4 separate regions of the Homo sapiens genome follow, and all the other regions are linked to region 1. Evidence: promoter capture Hi-C in 16 types of primary human blood cells and fetal thymus (Javierre and others, 2016). All regions are on one chromosome and are shown on one strand. Each heading gives the region's core, a stretch centred on a gene start or on the middle of the fragment in contact. The rest is flanking DNA. Distances are from core to core; before and after follow the strand shown. Region 1 holds the start of LAP3 (leucine aminopeptidase 3). Region 2 overlaps BOD1L1 (biorientation of chromosomes in cell division 1 like 1). Region 3 has its middle 6.3 kb from the start of MIR5091. Region 4 overlaps PACRGL (parkin coregulated like).

Region 1 (2,710 bases), core at 1-2,500:
CACCAAAGAAAACGGCCTTCCTTGGCATTGGTAACTCTGCCAGGTTCTAACTTCCCTAAGATTGTTCACTCCCCGGGAATCAATGGAGCCAACTGAGCAACTGTTATCTGGGTAGGCTGTGGCACAGTACTGGAGATAGCACTGGTCAGGCGACTGGTCCCTCCACCACTGAGATACCTGCAGGAGACTGGAGCTCAAGCTCCCCCTAGAACGTTCTTCTGCAGGGACAGTCATCTCTTTCTGGTGCTTAGGCATGACTCCCAAGCTTGTGCTGGTTCCGAGAGCCATTCCCTTTGCAGATCCTTCACATCTGAAGAGCGACCTTCGTAATTTTTTGGAGTTCACTTTTCTTCTGGAAGATGCTCTTAATTCTGGGAAACGTGGGTCTCTCCCCAAAGCCCTTTTCTCTAGAGAGGCATGCTTTTCCTCTAGAAACCCTTCCAAGCTACTTAACTCCCTGACCTTTCACTTCCGCGGGGGAAGGAGCCCTGTGACTCTGGGACCTCAGAAACCCTTTCACCTTGGCAAACTCGGGCTTCCTCCAAGCTCGGATGGGAGCCCCACCGCCGCGTCTTTCCCCGGGTTACTGCCAGGACCGCGGGTGACGACTGGAGCAAGTGCGCGGCCGAGTGGAGCCGGGTAAAGGGCGGCTACAACCATCACCCCCTAGCCCCGAGCAGGGGAATCGCGCCCTCAATACGACCGCTGGGGTCCTCAGCGGCCTAGGCCGATCCCCGCAAGGAGAGAATTTTTCTTTTAAACTGATTTTTGCAACTTGGCTTGGGCGCCCAGGACACCGCGGCTTCGACCAGCCCCGCAGCCCCAGTAGCCCACGGGCAGGGCCCCAGCGGCGGACCATGAGCGAGCCGCCGCCTCTCACCTTCGTCATGTCTGCGGTGGAGAGACTCCGGCTCCCGAAACGTCTCACGGCCAGACGTCGGACGACTACTCGCCCCGCAGCCGGAAGAGGCAGCAAGAACATCTTGTCGGCTCGGCCCCTCGCACCGCCCTCCAGCGAGCACGTGGAGAGCGGTGGGCGGGCGCGCCTTGGGGCGGGGCTTTCGGGGCGCAGACGGCGTGCGCGCGGACTGGCTCGGGCGCCGGGCGAGCGGACGTGCGTCTAGGGGGCGGGACGGATGGGCAGCACCGGCCGACTGGACCGCTGGGATCAAACCGCGGTTGTGGAGGGGACTCAAGGGTGCGCCCGCATTCGTGTGCGCCCGCATTCGTGTGCGCCCGCATTCGTGTGCGCCCGCGCATGCGGGCGGGGGCGAAAAGGCGGGGCTTCCGGACGCGGTTGACAGTCCCGGGAGCAACGCGAAGTAGAGGGGCGGGACCGATATGGTGACGTCACACGATGGGTGGGGCGGAGGCGGGGCGAGTTCTGCAAGCGGGCGTGGGCGGAGCGCTGGGCAACTCCCGGGAAATAGAAACTGAGTGCCAGAGCTTGTTGTCAAGGTTGCTGAATAGACGACTGCATAGTGAAGACACTCCCACTGAGTTTTCGTTTGTTTGTTTGGTTTTTTTGAGTCGGAGTCTCGCTCTGTCACCCAGGTTGGAGTGCAATGGAGCGATCTCGGCTCACTGCAACCTCCCGCTGCTTAGTTGAAACGATTCTCCTGCCTCGTCCTCCCGAGTAGCTGGGATTAGGGGCGCCCGCCACCACGCCCAGCTAATCTTTGTGTTTTTTTGTTGTTTTTTTGGATTTTTTTTTTGAGGCGGAGTCTCGCTCTTGTAGCCCTGGCTGGAGTGCAGTGGCGCAATCTCGGCTCACTGCAACCTCCGCCTTTCGGGTTCAACAGATTCTCCTGCCTCAGCCTCCCGAGTAGTTGGGACTACAGGCGCCCACCACCACACCTGGCTAATCTTTGTATTTTTAGTAGAGACAGTGTTTGGCCATGTTAGCCAGGCTGGCTTTGAACTCCTGACCTCTGGTGATACACCCGCCTCAGCCTGCCAAAGTGCTGGGATTACTTACAGGCGTGAGCCACCGTGCCCGGCAACTCTTTGTATTTTTAGTAGAGACGAGGTTTCACCATGTTGTCCAGGCTGGTCTCGAAGTCCTGACCTCGTGATCCACTTGCCTCGGCCTCGCTAAGTGCTGGGATTACAGGCGTGAGCCACCGCACCTGGCCTGAGTTATTTTTATTCGTGTCCTTTCATCTGTTCCACAGGTGCAACGGTGTAAATACTGTTTTTGAAAATGATGTAACACTATTAGGTTCGTTGACTCGTGCACATAGCAAGTCAATACGCCCAGACACCAGGGTTGCAGCAGAGAAAGAGGTGTAATCGTGGAGTCGCCAAAGGAGGAGATGGGAGGAAACCTCAAATCCATCTCCCTGAGGAATTTGGGGTCAAGGTTTTTAAGGGTTTTGGAGAGGGCTATAGTGTGGAGATCGTTGATTGAAGAGTGCAGGGTGAAGTCATGGGACAGGGCGTTGAAGAACCTGTATTCTTAAGCTGACCCCATTCCTCTCTGGGGATCTTCAAACTGGTAGCTGGAATTCAAGGTCTGAAAAATATCTTAAGCGATCCTTAAACAGAAAGCTTATGATTCTAATGTCAGAGATCCTGTCTATAGGAACAATGGGAATGCAAATGGTCAGTATGTAGTGCTAGGTGACTTTTAGCAACAAGGAAGTGGGCCAAAGTACAGCCTGATTAATGCTTAATTATAACTATATTTCTGCCTAGAACTTGGCATGAA
Region 2 (2,710 bases), core at 84-2,583, 4.0 Mb after region 1:
AAGGGATCTTCCCTCCTTGGCTTCTGAAAGTGCTGGGATTATAGGCATGGGCCACCTCACCTGGCCACTACTTGTTCTTGAATGTAAATATTTGCAAAGACAAGAAAGCCTTCTACCCTTGCTATACCCCTCAAAAAAAGGGTGACTAAGTTATTTAGAGATCATCCAGTCTCCCTGACTTGACAAGTATTTATGTTCAAGTACATCTTTGAGAATGAAGTGTAGCTTTTTTTTTTTTTAACAGTTAAACAAATCTGTTTTATACCTGCCACCTCTTAATTTCCTTTTGTCCCATAGGAACCTCTCGAAAGCCTATCTAGTCTGATAGTTTCAACCAACAGGAAGCCCCACAAATCAAAATTCACACCCTGACTAAAAGACAAACCTATTTAGCCACAGGTAATACTAGAAACCAGAAGCCTGGGGGCTCAGACAGTGTCTCCTTGTGCATAAGAGAAGAGGGAAATTCACAATAGCTTTGTTGTCTACATTTTAAAGGATGTCTGAGGAACCTGTAAAAGAGTCCAGGTGAGATCAAAAGATGCCATTAGAAGGCTGCATAATAATACCTGGTGGGAAAAGGTCAAAGCTGTTTCTAGAAAAAGTAGAAACAAAAAAGATCTGTTGGGTGACAGGCCCGCTGCCTGTAGTTTCCACAAAGGCTTTCAAAGAGAACAATGACCAAAATAGCTTAGGACTAGGGGATAAGGGAGTGGAGGTAGGGTAGAGCACCCCTTCACACACATTTATACAGAGCCCTACTGATTACTTTCATTCAGTGATTTGCATAGCCACCTCCCTGTTCACAAATGATTGCATTGCTTTAAAAGCATGTTTTTTTGGGAGTCTGGCATTTTTTTTCTTCATATATTGACACTCAGATTGAAGGCAAACTTCTTAGAATTGCATTTACTTTTATAGCGTATAAAATCTATAAGGTAAGGGAGCAGTCATTCTTTTATTTAAGGGAACTAAGTCTTACACATGTGAAAATTAAGCACTTAAAATTATTGCTGTACCAGTAAGATATTGTGATCACAAAATCATGTTTGGTGCGAGGTCAGGGGTTCTTGTGGCTGTGTCAGTGATTAAATGCTGGAGCAATTTGCCTATGAGTAATGAGGAATCTCTTTTTCTGGAGACATTTTGAAAGAGGGAAGACAGCTGCCTTCTCTTGGATGATACTGATAATAACATTTTAAAGCTTCCTTAAAGAGATTATTTAGTTATGTTCAATCTGAAGGTATAGGGGTGGACTAGCCCCTGTAAATAAATATAATTTCAAACAGTTTTTTGTACGTATGCTTTGAGACATACTCACTTGACTCCATTAGGTTGAGCTATCTGCACTTGCCATTTTTGTAAGACAAAAATGGTCTAATACCAGTAATTTCAGATGGTTCAACTTAATAGCTGATCTGCTGACTCAGTAGGAGGGAAAATTTTATTCTACTTAAGCTTTTATTTGTACAACAGAATCTGAAAATCCTAGGTAACTGAATAACGAACTTAGCTAAACATAATTTGAAAGGAAGACAAGGAAGTAACTTTAACCAGAAAAACGCCAGCTGTTGGCATTTTGGCTTTGCCGTTGACCTAGGGCTGTAGCTTCTCCCCACTTGGGTGAGGCAGTTATGGCCGCTAAGTGCAGTATGATCATTGGTACTGGACTCCATTTTTCTGTAAGATTAGAGCTGACCTCTGTGTGAGAAAGGACTAAAGCAGAAGTGTTTTGTTTGTTTGCAAAACAAGAGGCTGGAACATAGGCAAACAGAGAAAGAGACTGAAGCAAAAATTTGGGAGTGGATAGTTTAATTTTTTTTTGGTACTTTTTTTTCTATTTTCTATTTTTTTTTTTTTTTTTGAGACGGAGTTCGCTCTGTCGCCAGGGTGGAGTGCAGTGGTGCCATCTCAGCTCACTGCAATCTCTGCCTCCTGGATTCCAGCAATTCTCCTGCCTCAGCCTCCCAAGTAGCTGGGATTACAGGCACGTGCCACCACACCCAGCTAATTTTTGTATTTTTAGGAGAGATGAGGTTTCACCATGTTGGCCAGGATGGTCTCGATCTCCTGACCTTGTGATCTGCCCGCCTTGGCCTCCCAGAGTGCTGGGATTACAGGCGTGAGCCACCATGCCCGGTCCTTTTTGTACCTTTTTACTTGTACCCTAAAACCTTTTTTAAGATTGCTTTTTCTTATTTCTTTTCTACCTACTACATTTTAAATACACCTCTAAGATGTAACAGTGTTTGCAAGATTTGCATTTTTTTTTAATCTTTAAAAAGCAGGTAACCTACTTTGTGCTGAGTTGGCTCATTTTTCTCTATGGCCCACATAAGTAGAATTATAGTTTCACAAGGCGACAAGGTGCTTCCAGAAATGAAAAACTAATCCATCCTGCACTCCAGATGGAAGTGCACTCAAAAATAGCATTTGTAAAGTGTAAGGAAAGATGGCTCCTCATCCATTCCATAGAGAGCAGTTGAGGCTTAGAAGCTAAAAATGACGAGCACTTTGATCTTCCAGCACTATCCTGACTACCTTGACTCCTCCACTTCTTTTTTAGGAAGAAACAAGATTTAAGTGTGTTTCTTAAAATAAATTCACGTTCTCTTATTTTACTCAGATGCCTTTGTGCAGAAGCACATTTCACAGATTGTTGTCCTCATCGCTCTTTTGTCTCTTGTATATGATATTTCCTTAACTCCAT
Region 3 (2,710 bases), core at 147-2,646, 3.9 Mb after region 1:
AGATCATCTTAATGGCTGGCACCCAATAGCAAATGCATGCTCTCCAGAGACAGTGCCAATTCTAGACACTTTGAATTCCTTCCTTTCATACATGCATGCCAACCACCTCTTACTCTTAAAACACAAAACAAAACAAAAAAAAAAACAACTCTTTCTTCAAATGTAGAATACAATCTTTATTTAGGTATACAAATTTTTATTTATATTTAAATAAATCCCTCCCAGAATTTCTACCCAGATGACCTGGATTAGATTTGAGGTATTCAGATAATACTACATCATTTCTAGAGACCTCCCTCCAATTTCTGCTTTTCCTAATTTTATTCCTGGAGGTGTGACTTTCAGTTTTCAGAATACCATGTACCATCTAGAATACTCAGGAAACACACACACACACAGACACACACATGTTAGGGCTATTTTTAAAATAAGAACAATTTTCACAAAGCCTAAATGGAAAATGCTAAATGCAAAGCTTCTTTCCATCTTTATAAGCATATAAAAGATACCTTGCATTTCAAGCCATCTGCAATATTGACATCTCAATTTTCAAAATAGCCAGCAATTCAGTAGCATTAATAGGCACAGGCTACCTAACTTCATAATAAATCTTACTTTTATAAATCTGATTGCTATCACTACCAGGAGTTTAAACCTTATGAGCAAAGAAATGTATAAAAATTAATGGTACTTGCATAAAAGGAGTATCATCTTACAAAAAAAAATGTTCAAACTAGAAAGTACGGTTTCAGTAAAACTTTGTTTATAAAAACAGGTAGACTGGATTAGGCCTGTGGGCCGTGATTTGTCTAGTCCAGTGTTTCTCATATAGTGTTCTATCAGCATTTGTTAAATGCATTTGTTAACAATGGAAACTCTCAGGCTCTGTCCCAGACCTATCAAATCAGGGACTCAGGATGGCGTGCCTAGTACTCTATTTTAACAAGTCCTCTAGGAGATTTTGGTGTAGGCTAAAATTTGAGAACCACTATTAGTCTTCCAGATTACCCACAGAGGAATCTCCCATCCCATAAAGTATTAATAACTAATGTGACTGATAGGTCCAACTTCACCAAATACCCCCCACCACTCTATTTCCCTCCTCTTCTGAAGTTCCTACTCCAATATCCCAGGGGCTTATGTATCCCAATCCTCGTCTCAGTTGACATTACTCCTGTCTTGCTGCCCCAGACACATCCTCCTTTTTCCCACCAACTAGAACTTGGCCACTCTCTTGAATTCTGCAGCTCCTCAAGGTAATATATTCTCACAAAGCCACCATTTCCAAAGCACCCCTACCCTACAACACTCCCAGACTGGCAGGGAGCTGAAGTTTCCAGTCTATGCCAAATGTCCCAGAATCACCCTTCGTCCTCTCTGCCTTACTGTCCCCCTGTACCACTCCACTTCCATGCCCTGACCCTAGGGCAAGTGACAATTCTTTCAAGGGAAAAATCAGTACCCGCTTTTCACATTAACATTGTATAACACTCTGCAGCCCCACCATCATGGTAGTCCTGCCTTATTTGAGGTTTTGCTTTCTGCAGTTTCAGTTACTCATGGTCAACTGTGGTCTGAAAATATTAAATGGAAAATTCCAGAAACAATGAATACATTTTAAGTGTTGCACCATTCTGACAAACATGCTGAAATCTTGCACCATACCATGCCATCCCTTTGTCCAGCATATCCACTCTGTGTATGTTAGCTGCCTGTTAAGTCACTTAGCAGCCATCTTGGTTATCAGATCAGAAAAAAATATAATATACACAGTATAGACTTTTGGGGTTTTTGTTGTTGTTTTTGTTTTTGAGATGGAGTCTGACTCTATCACCCAGGCTGGAGTGCAGTGGCACGATCTCAGCTCACTGCAACCGCCGGCTTCCGGATTCAAGCAATTCTCCTGCCTTAGCCTCCCAAGTAGCTGGGATTATAGGCACGTGACACCATACCCGGTTAACTTTGTATTTTTAGTAGAGATGGAGTTTCACCATGTTGCCCAGGCTGGTCTTGAACTCCTGCCTTCAGGTGATCCACCTGCCTCACCCTCCCAAAGTGCTGGGATTACAGGTGTGAGCCACTGAGCCCAGCCCATGGTATAGTTTGTTCCTCCATGGTTTCAAGCATCCTCTAGGGGTCTTGGAACATATCCCCCATGGATAACAGGGCACTACTATACTGCAACAAAAATAGAATATGTGTGACCATGCAGCTTGCATTGGAAAGACAAATAATATTAACACATGTCCTCTCCCCCTCCTCCGATGTTTTCCGTTATCACTGAAAAACGAACTTTCAAAGTTTCTACTAAGCTTTGGGTTGATGGAGATTTAGGAAATATTGATTTCCCTTTGATTATGAAAAGCCTAGTCGGGAATGGAGATGCCAAAGAGTGGGGATCCCATGGGGGTACAAGGGGAAGAAAATAAGGAAACAACTCTGACGAATAATCAGATGGGATCCCTGGTGTTAGGAGATCAATGTTTGACTTTCACTGGACAAGCTCACAGAAGCAGTCTGGAGGATTGGGTAGGGGTGGGGGACAGGCTGGACTGTAGAAAGGAAAAGAAATTCCTGACAAAAACCATTTGTCAGGAATCTGGTGCCTAACCATGCACATGGCTACCAGTAACAGGGGCCATCATCACCTATTGTTGCTTCCCTAATTCGCAAACTATAAACTCTGTCACCTTGACATCAGACTTGGGGA
Region 4 (2,710 bases), core at 68-2,567, 3.1 Mb before region 1:
GTGTACCTCCAGAGCCCTCTGATTTCTGCATTGCTTCCCTTTCACTCCTGCAGTTTAAAAAAAAAAAAGTTGATTTCAAAATTTGTTTGGAGGGGCATTTGTTATCAATAAAAAGACAAAACCAGAACAGAGTATACAATACAGTAAAAGACACACAAAAAAGTTGATATGGAGCAAAATACTGGAAAAGACTAATGAGAAAACATGAAATTATGTCAACTTCAATAGTATCAATAACAGCAAAATAATCATCTCCAAGAAATGATGTACAAAAGTCAACTTTTTTTCCATTCAAATTGTCAAAATAAACTGTTAGAAACTCACTTCCAATTCTCTGACCACATTAGAAAACACAGACTAGATTTCTGAAAGGAGTGGTTGGTACATTCCCTGTCATCTTCTCCATCTTCTCTGGCCTCTGTATTTCCAAAGCTCCAAATGTTAACATGTGCACATCAAGCTCTACTTTTCCAGTGACATAATGAACTCTCCTACCCAATGTATCACAAGCTCCTTAAACTGAATGTAACTAAAACTGAGGTTGTCACACTGAAGTTATTATGAACCCCTTGTTAACCCAGGGTACCACCAGTTTTCTGGTCCTCAGACTGAAAAACTTAGAATCACCATTGTCTCCTTTTCCTTCATTTCCTACACTCAATGCTACACGTGATGAGAAAGAAAGAGCTTTGGGCTCAAATATGGGTCTGCATCTCAGTTCTACCAATTATGAAATTTATGAATTTAGGCAGATTATTTAACCTCCCTAAACCTCGACTTCCTGACCTGTTTAAAGAGGGAAATAAAAGCCTGTCAAGGTTTTCTGGAGGTGCAAATGAAATTATCTCTCAAGTTACTCACCCAGGGAATACTGGTTCACTTTTCCCTTACACAGTTGCTTTTTTTCTGCTAATGGAGGACTCTAGTTCATACCCCAAGGTTTCCAGCTAATCCAATCAATTTCTACAATTGTATCTCTAGCAAGAAATACACACACACAAACACACACACACACACACACACACACACACACACTCATATACCCAAGTGCCTACTGGTATTTTTAGGCCAAGCTTCATTCCCAACTTCCATGAAGCCTTTCCTCATCTTGGTTTCTCAAATGTGTATTTCTATGGCATTGATTTCTATCCTGTGTCCTTATTTCTACTTGATTACTCTGTTCCCTCACTTCCACGACAATCTAGTTATTCTATTAGCACACGTCTCATTTTAATGCCTTTAATAATGACTGCCTCTCAAGTATAGTGTAAGATCTTCCCTTAGGACAACACAGGTAAAGTCCTCTTCCACCTCCAAATGACACTTTTTCAAATATTTGATGGCATTAACTCTTAACTCCTTCATTTTTTCTTCTTCAGGATAAACACTGATACTTTTTAAAATGATTCCTCACATGAAATGCTTTTAATCCACTTAACAAGTTAGAAATCCTCAAAAGGAGGACAAAGCTCCATGTTATAAAATTTAGCCAGATATCTCAAACATGATGTACCAGCTTAAAGTCTGATACCATGTAAAGATAACCTAAATGTAAGCTTGCTTCTGCACACTGAATAATTTCAATTTCCTTGATTTAGTACATTGATCTCATTTATCTCATCCCACTACCAGCAGATGACTTACTTCCCAGTATCACACTTCACCTCCATTCCCAGGGCCATTTTCTAATACTACGGTAATTAAAATCTCATTAAAGTTGTCAGATAATAGTCTAAAATAAGCTGAGAGAAGCTTTAAATATGTTAACCTACTATTGTACTTCTGTGATCATTCAACAAGTATTTAATATTGTGCCTGACTTCTGTTTTGAGAAGCTCCTGGAGGGGGAACAACACAAGTTTCTATTGAAAAAAAAAATGCATCAGTTTCCTCAACTCTATAATTGGGCATAATTACAGGAACTACTTTAAGTGTTGATGAAGACTAGTAAGAATATATGTAAAACAACATTTCCATAATGGGAGGCATGCAGTAAGGGCCACATGAGTCTTAGCTATTATTATAATTTTCTTTACAATGGTACAAAGTGTTCTTCAGTATTACTATTACTAATAGTGAAACCACATGTTTTGTCATTTTTAAAAAATCTGGCTTAACATCTTGGGCTACATCAATTTGAAGACCAGCTGAGGTCCAATTTCTCTTGATCATCAATTGTTAACAGCTGCAACAGATAAAAGCGATGCACAGCAAAGACGCGTACCCACAAACATAACAAGGGCACAGGCAGCCATATCAAATTATGATGCACATTTTTCAATACTACCTACCAATTCAGTGGAAGTTTTGGATGGAATTTTATGGCTAAATTTCTATCTTCCTTCACGTCAAAAAGTTGTTCCTGTAACAAACTAATGGGGAGGTGTTGCATTATATTTTGAATGAGTTCAAAAAGTCACCAAAACTCATTTGAAAAAGTTTTAAACATGGTAGAAAATCGAGCTTCTACAGTTTATGAGTATACAGGACAACTTTTATGTACAATATATAATTTTCAGCATTAAACATACAGTAATGCAAACACGTCTACATCCCCTTTCAAAATCCTGTATTAGAGAATTTCCTTCCAAAACAATTGCTTTTTCACTTAAAATTTTTATCCTTTACCTTAACGACAAATTACAGTTGGCTCTCCGTATATGCGGGTTCCACATCTATAGATTTGACCCAACCACGGATACGGAGAGCA

What was found. Contacts are between HindIII fragments. The CHiCAGO score rates a contact against its expected background, and 5 or more counts as called.
Region 2: a fragment that was not itself captured here is called in contact with the fragment with the promoter of LAP3 in region 1 in 1 of 17 cell types (total B cells); the score reaches 9.1 in total B cells.
Region 3: a contact is called between a fragment that was not itself captured here and the fragment with the promoter of LAP3 in region 1, in 1 of 17 cell types (non-activated CD4 T cells). The highest score is 7.0, in non-activated CD4 T cells.
Region 4: a contact is called between a fragment that was not itself captured here and the fragment with the promoter of LAP3 in region 1, in 4 of 17 cell types (naive B cells, total B cells, naive CD8 T cells and 1 more). The highest score is 26.0, in naive B cells.

Annotation. Positions count from the first base shown.
Region 1 is chr4:17,575,738-17,578,447 of GRCh38, reverse strand. It overlaps LAP3 (leucine aminopeptidase 3), which reads right to left and starts at 1,250. Exons shown (of 13, transcript NM_015907.3): 1 at 881-1,250. The coding sequence starts at 982. RefSeq lists enhancers at 703-902, 1,243-1,602 and a silencer at 973-1,182. The HindIII fragment of the contact is 2,285 bases long and covers 268-2,552 here.
Region 2 is chr4:13,616,397-13,619,106 of GRCh38, reverse strand. The region is part of intron 2 of BOD1L1 (biorientation of chromosomes in cell division 1 like 1); the gene reads left to right. Among named protein-coding and RNA genes, the nearest start is that of BOD1L1, 10 kb to the left of the region's middle. The HindIII fragment of the contact is 254 bases long and covers 1,207-1,460 here.
Region 3 is chr4:13,632,799-13,635,508 of GRCh38, reverse strand. No RefSeq gene overlaps it. Among named protein-coding and RNA genes, the nearest start is that of MIR5091, 6.3 kb to the right of the region's middle. The HindIII fragment of the contact is 1,837 bases long and covers 478-2,314 here.
Region 4 is chr4:20,701,803-20,704,512 of GRCh38, reverse strand. PACRGL (parkin coregulated like) reads right to left here. Exons shown (of 9, transcript NM_001258345.3): 2 at 1-47. The coding sequence starts at 31. Among named protein-coding and RNA genes, the nearest start is that of PACRGL, 2.7 kb to the right of the region's middle. The HindIII fragment of the contact is 483 bases long and covers 1,076-1,558 here.